Regions from separate parts of the Homo sapiens genome. Here region 2 is linked to region 1. The links are contacts of gene promoters, found by promoter capture Hi-C in human tissues and cell types (Jung and others, 2019). All regions are on one chromosome and are shown on one strand. Each heading gives the region's core, a stretch centred on a gene start or on the middle of the fragment in contact. The rest is flanking DNA. Distances are from core to core; before and after follow the strand shown.

Region 1 (5,419 bases), core at 818-3,317:
CACGCCCTCAATCCATCCTTTAATTCAATGCAGCCACTTAAGCTGCAGCCTGTGGTGAGGAGGGGATGCAGGCTCTCTGGCTGTGACTAGGTGGTTGAGATCTGCCCACAGCCAAGCCTAGGGCGCCTGGATGCTGGCTTTGTCTCCTGGCCAGAGAATGGCCCCTCTCTGTGCAGTGTGCCCTGCTTCCATGCTAGGGGATGCTAGCCTTGGACTGAAAGCTTTATTAGCTCACACCCCAACTTTCTGGGAAGGGGCCCAGGCAAGGCCCAAGAATATCACAGTCTGGCCTGCACAGAGTGAAGAAGGAGAAAAGGGGAGGAACCTGCCTTGGGAACTTGTCTCATTCTTGGCTCTGCTCTGAAGCTCCTGCTGGCCTCCCTCATACCAAGACCTGGGCCTGCCTTTCCTTCTTGCCCTTCTGGCTTCTCTCTAATAATGGCTTTGGGTTGGTCTTTGGAGCTAAGATAACTTTGCTCTTGAGCAAAAGGTTCTGGAAGAGGGAGTTGTCCTTTACATCCACCCCTGACCTGCTAAGGATGTTCCCTAGCTGAGGCAGGTCTACATTCTAAGGAACGATTAGTAGCCATGATGGCAAGACTGCTTTCCTGAGAGGAAAAGCCAGGCACCATGGCAGCAGATGATTACCGTGAGGGCCCAGTGAAAGGGGCCTGATCACGAAAGCTGAGAAAGTAGTGGCCACCCCTCTGGGCCCCAGGGACAGGGAAAAGAGAAGCAGCCATGACCTTTGGCTCTAGGTATTGGGATATTCTCAGGGCTGGTGGTCGGAGGTTGCCTTCTGCACGGAAGGTGCCTCCAGCTCCTTGCTAGGTGCCGCACTGAAGGAAAGGGGCCAGCATGACTGGTCGGCAGTCCAGATTTGCAAATAGGACTCCACGAGTTGTGGCACAGTTTGCTCTGCACGTTTTCTGCCCTGTGGACAGGGTCTCTAGGGTTCTCTCGAGAGACCAGAGAAGCCAATGAGGTTTGACCAGAGGCTCTACGACCCAGCAAAGCTAAGGCCCTAGCCTTGGCAGTCCGTACTCTGAAATAACTCAATCGGGAAACTCAGGGACTTGAAGGCCTGGAAGCCCAGGAATAACACCCTCTCGAGGGAGAGACAATGAGGAAGAAGCCATGGCCAAAGCCTAGCAGGGATGGAGGTGCCAGAGGGAACAGAAACAACCAAAATGATCCCAAGAAGTCAACAGTGGGAGGAGAGGGAAAGGCGCCAAGTCTTAGAATGTGTGTCTGTGGGTGCAGAAGAGGGGTGCTCTGCAGGAAATGCAGTTGAGGCGCTAAGAAGGAGAATGCTGGGAAGGTCCTGGCGAGAGACCGAGAAGCCTGGAGGGCTCAATTCACCACGAGTAGCTGTTTGGGGCTGAAGAGAGATTTGGGTCAATCTTTAGAGAAGACAGCCTCTAGGGAGAGTCTTTGGGAGGGTCCCCTCAAGGTAAAGGGACAGGACTGGGGTGAGGGCTGGATCCCAGCGCAGGAGGTGGAGTGTTTCTGGGTCTCAGGCAACACATTTGTGTTACGTTACATTCTCACAACAACCATGAGAGGGACTGCTATTGTCCCATTTCACAGATAAGAAGACCAAACCTTAGTGCTCTGAAGTCACTAATGCAAGGCCCCACTGCCCAGTCACTTGTGGAGCCAGTGAATTCACACCACCTGACTCCAAACCTGTACACTTTAAGAGCCCACTGACATCCTCTCCTTTCTCTGCCTTCCTCCACGACCCTCCTTTTCCGCCTGCCTTCTTGGTCTCTGCTGCGGGGGGCCAACCTGGACCTTGGGGTCCAGTGTCCTGCCATTAGTCATCTGATACCCGGGCACTAAGCCCAACCGGAGGGACAAAGCCCACACCGGCCACGGGGTGGAGGAGAGTCGATGTCGGATTTAGGGCGGGGCTGAACCAAGCCCAGGGCCGCGGGGGCCGTGGCTTCAGCACCGCGGAGAGCGCCATCTCCGGGGGCGGGGCTGGCGGGGTGGGGGCGGGGCCTGGGCGGGGCGCGCGAGACCCCGGCCGGGTCCCGGGGGCGCGCGCGGGGCGCTCTCGCCAGTCCCGCGGGCCGTGCGCGGTGCTGTGCCGCGCCCTGCCAGACACAGGTGCGCCCGCCTAGCCCGAACTCCGCGGCGGCGGCTGCCCTCTCGCCGCGCCTCCGCCTCCTTCGCAGCCGCCGCCTCCTCCGCGCCGCGCTCCGCCCGGATGGCCAGGGCTGTGCCCGAGAATGGCGGAGCGAGAAAGCGGCGGCCTGGGAGGGGGGGCCGCGTCCCCGCCCGCCGCCTCCCCGTTCCTGGGGCTGCACATCGCTTCGCCTCCCAATTTCAGGTGAGAGTCCCCGGCCGCCGCGCGCCTCGCCCTTCAGCGGGGACTGATCCGCATTGGCTGCCCTGCCCGCCCCCCACCCCAGAACCTCGGGAACCCGGGAACGAAAGGGCTGCGTGGGAGTGGGGTCTCTTCCCGGGACAGAGCCCCCCTCAGAAGCCCCGCCAGCCTCAAGTCCGGACTGGTAGCCGTTGCATGTTCACGAGGCTGTTCCCTCCGCCATTCCTGGTCCTAGGCTGGGAGGTCTGCGCTGGAATTGGAGGAGGGGGCTCGGAGGCCTCCTTCTCCCCAACCTCCGGGCTGCGGCAGGGTCTGGGGTCGGGGTTGCGATCCCGGAGCGGGCAGGCAGGCTGCATCTTAGCCTGTGAATAGAGCTGGGAACAGCCTGGAGGGGCGCGGGTCGCAGTTTCCTGGGGCAACGACATTGTTGGTGCTGGGAGGAGGATGTTTGAGCCCCTCCCCGAGCCCTGCCTGGCCAGATGGGCCTACCTGCCAGGCCTGGCGTGGCCGGGCCCCTCTCTGGATTGGGCAGCACCGACCTAGGCAGGTGTGTCTCTCAGGGCAGGCGCTGAAGGCTCAGCCTCAACCAGGGGAATCCTAGGCCCGGCTGCGGGAAGGGAAGTCGGCTCGGCTCTGGAGTAGCCAGGGCCAGCGAGGGTGTCGAGGGGATCCCTGCTGGGGTAAATACCCAGAACCCTGACCTGAGCTCCTATTCCACCACCCCCACCCCCCAATCTGGTGTTAGGCCCGATGCATTTCAGAGAAGTGAGGGGTGAGTGTTGTGTGGAGGAGGAATAGATGTACCTCCCCCATAATTCTGAACCCTAGTTGGTGGGGAGGAAGAGGCCGAAGTCACTGCTCCCGGCCTAGAGAGGGAGGCTTAGACATACCCCATTGTTTCCCCATCTCGAGAACTGGCGCCTTCCCCTCTCCTGGGGCACCACCCCAGCCAGGCTCCAGCTGGGCTGTGGTGCCAGCCCCTCCTGGGAGCAAGGGGTCACTGGCTCCCAGGTCCTCAGGTGGGCAGAGACCCCTGGGGATCTCTAATAGCATCATCAAACTCAGAAACCTTCCCTGAGGCCCTGAGCTGAGCTGGAAGGACCAGAGGGGGCCAGATGGAGGAGGCCAGGCCTGAAGGCTCCAGGGCTGCAGCTCTCTGATAATGCCTTAGACTGAGGTCTGAGACTCCACCTGGCATGGTGCATGAGGCCTCCATGCAAATACTGCCTCCCCACCTGGAGGCCTCTGCAGTGGAAGCACATGGGGCTTAGAGGGACCTGGGTTCAAATCCTAGCTCCACTACTTTCTAACTGCATGACCCAGGCAGGTTTTTGTCCTCTCTGGGTGCCATCTGTTAAGTGGGCTAATTAATATTGATTCTTGCCTGGAAAGGAGAAAAAGCACATCAGGTCAGTGTTCAACAAGTGTCAGCCCCCACACTAGCAGACAACACTACGGCTCGCTGCTGTCCAGAGTGTCTTCCCAAGGCCCCTCCTTTAACCCTCATAACTGCCCCAAGAGAGGGTAGTGACCTGCCCATTTTATAGATGAGGTGATTGAGATTAACAAAGGCAGGGTGGCTCATCTGGAGACTACAAAAGAGTCAGAGACTAAGGCTACACTGGGACCCAGGTCTGTGCGTGTTTAGTCCACTCTACGTCCCAGCCCTGCCTCTGGCCCAGTGGGCAGCTTTTCTTCCTCGACCTGCTTCCCCAGGTGTCATAGATGCTTTAATGAGAGGAGCTGAGGAAGCAGACACCAGCCAGTGAATGTGTGGCCAGCTCTGCGGCATGTGGGACAAGGGTGGCAGTAGGCCACGAGGCTGAGGTGTGGGCCAGCACTCCAGAACATGGTGGCCTGGCTGCGGAGACAAGGCCAGTGCGTGGGAATAATAAGCGTCAGTGTCTCAGGCCCTGCCGGCCTGCCCCGCTGCTCCCAAAGCCCCCGCTGCCCTTTCTCCTGGCCCGCCTCTCACTGTGCTTGGCCAGGCTCCACTTAACCCTGGGTGGGTAGATAGTGCTTTCTTGTGGCTCTTTGGTGGAGTCATAGATCCAACTGGCCTGGGTTTGAATCCTGGCTGGCCCTTCTTACCTGTGTGCCCTGACACTGGGCACTTAAGCCCTCTGAGCCTCTGAGATGCCAGCACTGGCCCCTGCTCAGGATGGTCCTAAGAATCAGATGAGATAACACGTGTTGAGTGTTTCAAGGGCTGAGGAGAGCCGCCTGTAGGCAGGGCTGTGTGTGTGCACACACACACAGGCGCCTTGACCCCCAGTGCCACTGTCAGCTCCCAGAAAATAAAGGGGGTCTGTACCCAAACTTTGGTATCCCCATTGCTCAGCACGGGATAGTTACTCAATAACAGTGGTAAGCGCTGACATTTGGAAGGCACTCAGTTCGCCCAGGCACCATTCTAAGAGTTTCCTATGTGCAAGAGTATTTACTCCTCCCAATAACTGTATCAACAGAGCGTTGTTATTATCCACACTTGCATGAAGAAACTGAGGCAGAGGGAGGTTAGGTAAGTGGCAGAGCTTGTAAGTGGCAGGCAGTCTGATGTCAGAGCCACCCCAAAAAGAAAGAGCCCTAGAGTATTGGAAGAGCATGTGCGGAGGGGGCGAGCATGTGGACCTGACCTGAAGGGGTGGGAGCATTCGTTTGTTTGTGGTAGGTTAAATACGTGTTAATTTTTGTTCTGATTATAGCTCCAGCTGTTTATAGTGGTTGGTTACCTTTGGGTATGGTATGGGGTGAGGGATTTTTACTTCTTATTTTACATACTTTTTTTTTTTGAGACAGAGTCTCACTCTGTCGCCCAGGCTGGAGGTTGGAGTGCAGTGGCATGATCTAAGCTCACTGCAACCTCTGTATTCTGGGTTCAAGCGGTTCTCCTGCCTCAGCTTCCCAAGTAGCTGGGATTACAGGTGCCCACCACCACGCCCGGCTAATTTTTGTATTTTTAGTAGAGACGGGGTTTCAACATGTTGGCCAGGCTGGTCTTGAACTCCTGACCTCAGGTGATCCACCCATCTCAGCCTCCCAAAGTGCTGGAATTACAGGCTCGAGCCACCACGCCCAGTGTCA
Region 2 (5,419 bases), core at 1,812-4,311, 620 kb after region 1:
GTGGCTCATAAGACAAAGGAAAAGACAAAGGGAACTCTATTTCAAAATGAAGTAGATAATACCTTATCCCTCTCTGACGATTTTACTTGCCAAAAGTTACCCCCTCTTCCTTGGGTACAAGTTATATATTTGTTATTAGAGAGTAGTCACTGATTCCTACAGAAGTCCTAGAAATTCCCGGCTCAGAAGAGAGCAGGAACAAGTACTGTCAAGGACAGGTGGCTAGAATTCTAGTCAGGAGAACTTGAAATACATGAGTCATCAGGTCTATCACCTGATAAGAATGGTATTCTCTAGTTTCTAACATATCTTCTTTGCCATGACTCAACTAGGCTTTTTAAGTTATATCAAAGGGGCAGATGAAGAATATTAAATTGTGGGCCAGATGTGGTGGCTCACGCCTGTAATCCCAGCACTTTGGGAGGCCGAAGTGGGCAGATCACGAGGTCAGGAGTTCAAGACCATCCTGGCTAACACGGTGAAACCCCATCTCTACCTAAAATACAAAAAAATTAGCTGGGCGTGGTGGCAGGCACCTGTAGTCTCAGCTACTCAGGAGGCTGAGGCAGGAGAATGGCATGAACCTGGGAGGCGGAGCATGCAGTGAGCCGAGATTGTGCCGCTGCACTCCAGCCTGGGTGACAGAGCGAGACTCTGTCTCAAAAAAAAAAAAAAAAAAAAAAAAAAAATGAATTTTTGCTTTGTGTTCACAACTTGGCTGTTTATAGCAGAAGAGGACTAGCTTCTGGCCTATCTCAAGTTTCAACATGTCTTGCTCACTAATCATTTGTAGCTTTTGACATAAAGTGAGAGATGTGCAACTCTTCCTTTTTCTTGAACATACAGAGGTCACTATAGGGATATTAAATGGCCTAATTTCAATATTGCTGTGTATCAGGGAATAGGAAGGCCCAAGAAGAGGAAGAGAGATGGGGGAATCGCCAGTGAGTGGAGCAGTCAAAATATATACAACATTTACAATTAAGCTTATTGTCTTATATGATTGTGGTTCACAGTGCCCCAAAACAATTACAATTGATCACAGGTCACCATAACAGATCTAATAATAATGAAAACATCTGAAATACTGCAAGAATTACCAGTGTGACAGACAGACACAAAATGAGCACATGCTGTTGGAAAAATGGTGCCAACTGCTCAATGTCGGGTTGCCACAAACCTTCAATTTGTGAAAAACACAATACCTGCAAAGCGCAAAAAAAGCCAAGCACAATAAAACAAAGTGTGCCTGTATTTGGTCACAATGTGGACTTCTGGGAAAAGAGGACCCAAATATAAGCAAATTAATTAGAATAGTTAAGAAAATAAATTAACAGACCTAAAGAGAATTCATCTTAAGGCTAAAAGACTAGAATTCTCATTGAGATGTTTTTTCCAGGCAGAAATCCAAAGTACAGCCCGTGTGTCAAAATTGTGAATAAGAGACTTCTGTGCCAGCAACAGTCTTTTATTTGTTTAATACATATGGGGATCTCACTATGTTGCCCAGGCTGGTCTCGAACTCCTGGGCTCAAGCAATCCTCTTGCTTCAACCTCCCAAAGTGCTGAGATTACAGGTGTGAGCTGCCACACCCGGCTCTAGCAACAGTTTTCAAGAAGCTGAATGTAATTATCCAGTGGCTAGTATATACGATGCAGATATTTGCGACTGATCTAATCTGAAGCTTCTCTAGTCTGACTGTCATTAGCAAAGCCTTTGCTACAGTATCCCTTTGCCTCAGAAAGCAAAGCAGCTATAAAAAGAGGCAGGAAGGGCAGGAATATGGGCTAGGGAGGATTCTGGAATTATAATTACATTTAGATTAACAGATAAAATGAGTAAGGGGGCAAGCATAGCTGGAATAATTGTCATAAAGCATACACACCACCTCTTTTGTAGGCCTTAGCAACTACGGGCCATAGCACTTAACCTGGGCTTTATAAAAGCCCCCTCCCTCTTTCCAAAGGGATGGCAAACATGAAAATGGAAGTCTGCCTTACGCTTATTTGCCATCTCCATTCTAGTAGGTGGTCTGGGCTTGAAAGCAGACAGACAGCAATGTCATGGGCAGCCACACCTTTACCCTGCTTATGAACATCTTTATGCAAAGGCAGCTGCTGAGAGCTTCAGGAGAGACCTGCTGACAGCAGGTTTCTGGATGTCCTGTTTGTGCAGTTTGATAAACACAAGGACCCTGCAGTCTCAATCCTTGCTGTAGACAGAGATGAATGGCAGGAGAGGAAGCCTGCCCAGGAAGATGGTCATTCATCTAGATCACAAAAGAACAGAAAATTTAACCTGATGCTGACCAACCTCCAAAGCCACCCTCCCAAGAGATAAATCTCAATGGTCTTGCTCCACAGCAAGCTCTTGGAAAGGCTCAAAAATGGTGGTACATCATTTTCAAAGGTTTTTAAATCAGCAGGACAATAAAACTCAGACACTAAATATGCTTGCTCCTGTCCTCTAACCTTAGACATATCTGATTTGGTCAAATGGAAGAGAACCACAAAAGATGGGCTCTGAGTAATGGCTCCCTTGGTTTTCTGAGAACACTATACAACTGGATGTGACAAGCCCAAAAATGGCAAAATGATCTATGACTTAGCAAACAGAGGGAGAGGTCATCAAAGTGAGGTAGCAAAGGCAAGAGCATGAAGTGCTGAGAAGGTGAGGATACCAAACAAAGGAACAACTGTCTTAATGGTAACCTAATTGTTAGGAGGATTACTCGCCATATCTACCTTACATGTCTCTCTGTACCTGAAAAAAATATAAATCGTGACTGCACATGCCTCTGACTTTCCTTCTAGTTACCAAAGCTAAGGCAAAAGATTGGGGCAGAAAAATTAAAATGTGCTGGTACATTCCTTCTTTGTTATTCTCCCTCCTCACAGAGCACGTGGACACTCAGAGGACAGGAGCAACCACAAGCAGCATTCAGTTTACTGTAGAGGGAGGTGGGCAGGGAAGGAGACAGAGAAAGAATAAACAGTCAGTTTCAACCAGCCAGTAACATCCTTTACTAGAAGACCTGGACTACTAATGTTGAGGTGACTAATCCACAGCTGCTATTAAAAACAAGATTCTAGTCTACATCAGCCCAAAAAGAAAGGCAAACACCCCAGAAGGGACTTTCCAAGGAGTATGAGAGAAATCAGTCCATTGTTACTAACCAGGGAGCAATATAAGACCCCCTGAGAAAAAACAGTAAGTCAGTGCATGAAAGGTGAAGAAGGAAATGTAAATTCAGGTCATGCTAAAGCCAGGGGAGGGGGTGGGGGAGAGCGCACAGGTGGGCTGGGGGGAGCATAAGGAGGAGGCAGTCTGACACAGGAAAATCGAGGGGGAAGGAAGGGGAGAGAGAGAGGAGGTGGTAGCAGGAGAAAGGGAAGGTAAGACAAGAACAGAACATTTTAAACTAACCCAGAACTCCCTTGTGAAGGACAAGTCACGAGGCAAGATACAGCTTGAAGGCATGAGCCCCACATTTCACCACTGCAAAAAGATAACGCAGTCTCCCAGGCGTGCATGGAAAGAGGGCTAGGCAATCCACAACACTGACTCCCAGGGCTCCACAGCATTAGTGAGAGAAAGTCACCCAGGCTTTTCAGCAGCACTAAGTGCCAGCAGCCTTGGCATGTATGTTTCAACTGCTTCCCTGAATAGACCCTGGTGCTGGAAAAACCGTATCTACAGGAGAACATATTTCACTGTAAGTATCTGCCTGGCTAAGGGAACAAACACTCCATTTCCTTCACTGCTGATATACGCATCCACCTCACCCTAGAGTGGACAGAAGGGAGAAGGAACAAGCTGACAGTCAGAAGGTAGCTCTGCTCTTCTCCTGCAGTTGACAAGAGAGAACCATGACCTCTGCTCCATTTGCCACACCACTGCTACTTCAGGCCATCCCTGCATTTCTTTCACATTTACATCTTTCTCAGACAAATAAACCTCCCACTTAGTTTTCCTTTTGCTTCTAAGAGCACAAATGCTAGTAGTGTGTTTAATGACAGCATCAGGAAGGCAAATTGGTACAAAGGTTGTTCTCACTTTCCTAGTCCTTTCTGGCAAAGAGATTTCTTAAACACACTAAAAAGCTTTGTTGCAAGATGACTTGTGAGGAACTAGCCATTCAGTTAAGGAAGAAAGCTGAGGGGGAGATGAGAACTCTTAAGGCCCCAGACCTGACCCGGCTATGTCAAGATGGAAGGTGGGGAGGAAATGACTGACAGGCTGTCCTCTTTCACAAATGCCAGTGAAGAAGGAGGAAGAAATAATGCTTAACCGCCCTTCTCTCTCTCTTGCTTTTATGTTTGACAATACCAAAATATAAGGAATCAAAATGAGCCAAATGTTCAATTTGATACAGGCCATAAAAGCTCAGTTTCAGGATGGAAAGAAACACAATGAATGGCTAGAAAGGTCAGAAGCAGCAGATGAGAGAATGCAAAACCCAGCAATAAGATTGGCTAGCTTAGGCTGGGCGTGGTTGCTCACACCTATTATCCCAGCACTTTGGGAGGCCAAGGCAGGCGGATCACAAGGTCAAGAGATGGAGACCATCCTGGCTAACAAAGTGAAACCCCATCTCTACTAAAAATACAAAAAAAAAAAAAAAAAATTAGCCGGGCGTGGTGGCAGGCGCCTGTAGTCCCAGCTACTCCGGAGGCTGAGGCAAGAGAATGGCATGAACCTGGGAGGCGGAGCTTGCAGTGAGCCGAGATTGTGCCACTGCACTGCAGCCTAGGCAACACAGCAAGACTCCGTCTCAAAAAAAAAAAAAAAAAAAAAGGCTTGGCACGGTGGGTCACGCCTGTAATCCCAGCACTTTGGGAGGCCAAGGCGGGCAGATCACGAGGTCAGGAGATCAAGACCACCCTGGCTAACATGGTGAAACCCCATCTCTACTAAAAATACAAAAAATTAGCCAGGCGCGGTGGCGGGCGCCTGTAGTCCCAGCTACTCAGGAGGCTGAGGCAGGAGAATGGCGTGAACTCGGGAGGCGGAGCTTGCAGTGAGCCGAGATAGCGCCACTGCACTCCAGCCTGAGCGAAAGAGCGAGACTCCGTCTCAAAAAAAAAAAAAAAAAAGATTGGCTAGCTTAAATTCTAGAGCCTGGGGCTGACCCTGCTCCTTTAGCGCATCCTCCCATGGCTCTCCCCGCTGACCACTCAAAAAAGCCCAAAGAAGCAAGAAATCATTTCTCAACCCACCACATTAATTTGACAGACAACTTTTTAAGGTTCCTGAATGGGGGGTAAGAGTAGGGAGACCAAAAAAGTTTAGGCAATGGAGTAGGATCTTAAAGAGTCAGTCTGATCAGGGCACTAAGATAGAAAATCCGCCTCTTAGGGAAATCCAAGTATTTCAGAACGAAGACAACATCTCCACAGCTACTCTGCTTAGGAGAAA

The links. The method cuts DNA at HindIII sites, captures the fragments that hold promoters and counts their contacts. A contact is called where the count stands out against the background at its distance.
Region 2: a fragment that was not itself captured here is called in contact with the fragment with the promoter of MAPK8IP1 in region 1 in 1 of the 25 tissues and cell types used here (spleen).

Annotation. Positions count from the first base shown.
Region 1 is chr11:45,883,584-45,889,002 of GRCh38, forward strand. MAPK8IP1 (mitogen-activated protein kinase 8 interacting protein 1) reads left to right here and starts at 2,068. Exons shown (of 12, transcript NM_005456.4): 1 at 2,068-2,338. The coding sequence starts at 2,238. RefSeq lists a silencer at 1,930-2,329. The HindIII fragment of the contact is 16,221 bases long and covers 1-5,419 here.
Region 2 is chr11:46,502,400-46,507,818 of GRCh38, forward strand. All of the region lies in intron 9 of AMBRA1 (autophagy and beclin 1 regulator 1), which reads right to left. Among named protein-coding and RNA genes, the nearest start is that of MIR3160-1, 53 kb to the left of the region's middle. The HindIII fragment of the contact is 3,452 bases long and covers 1,336-4,787 here.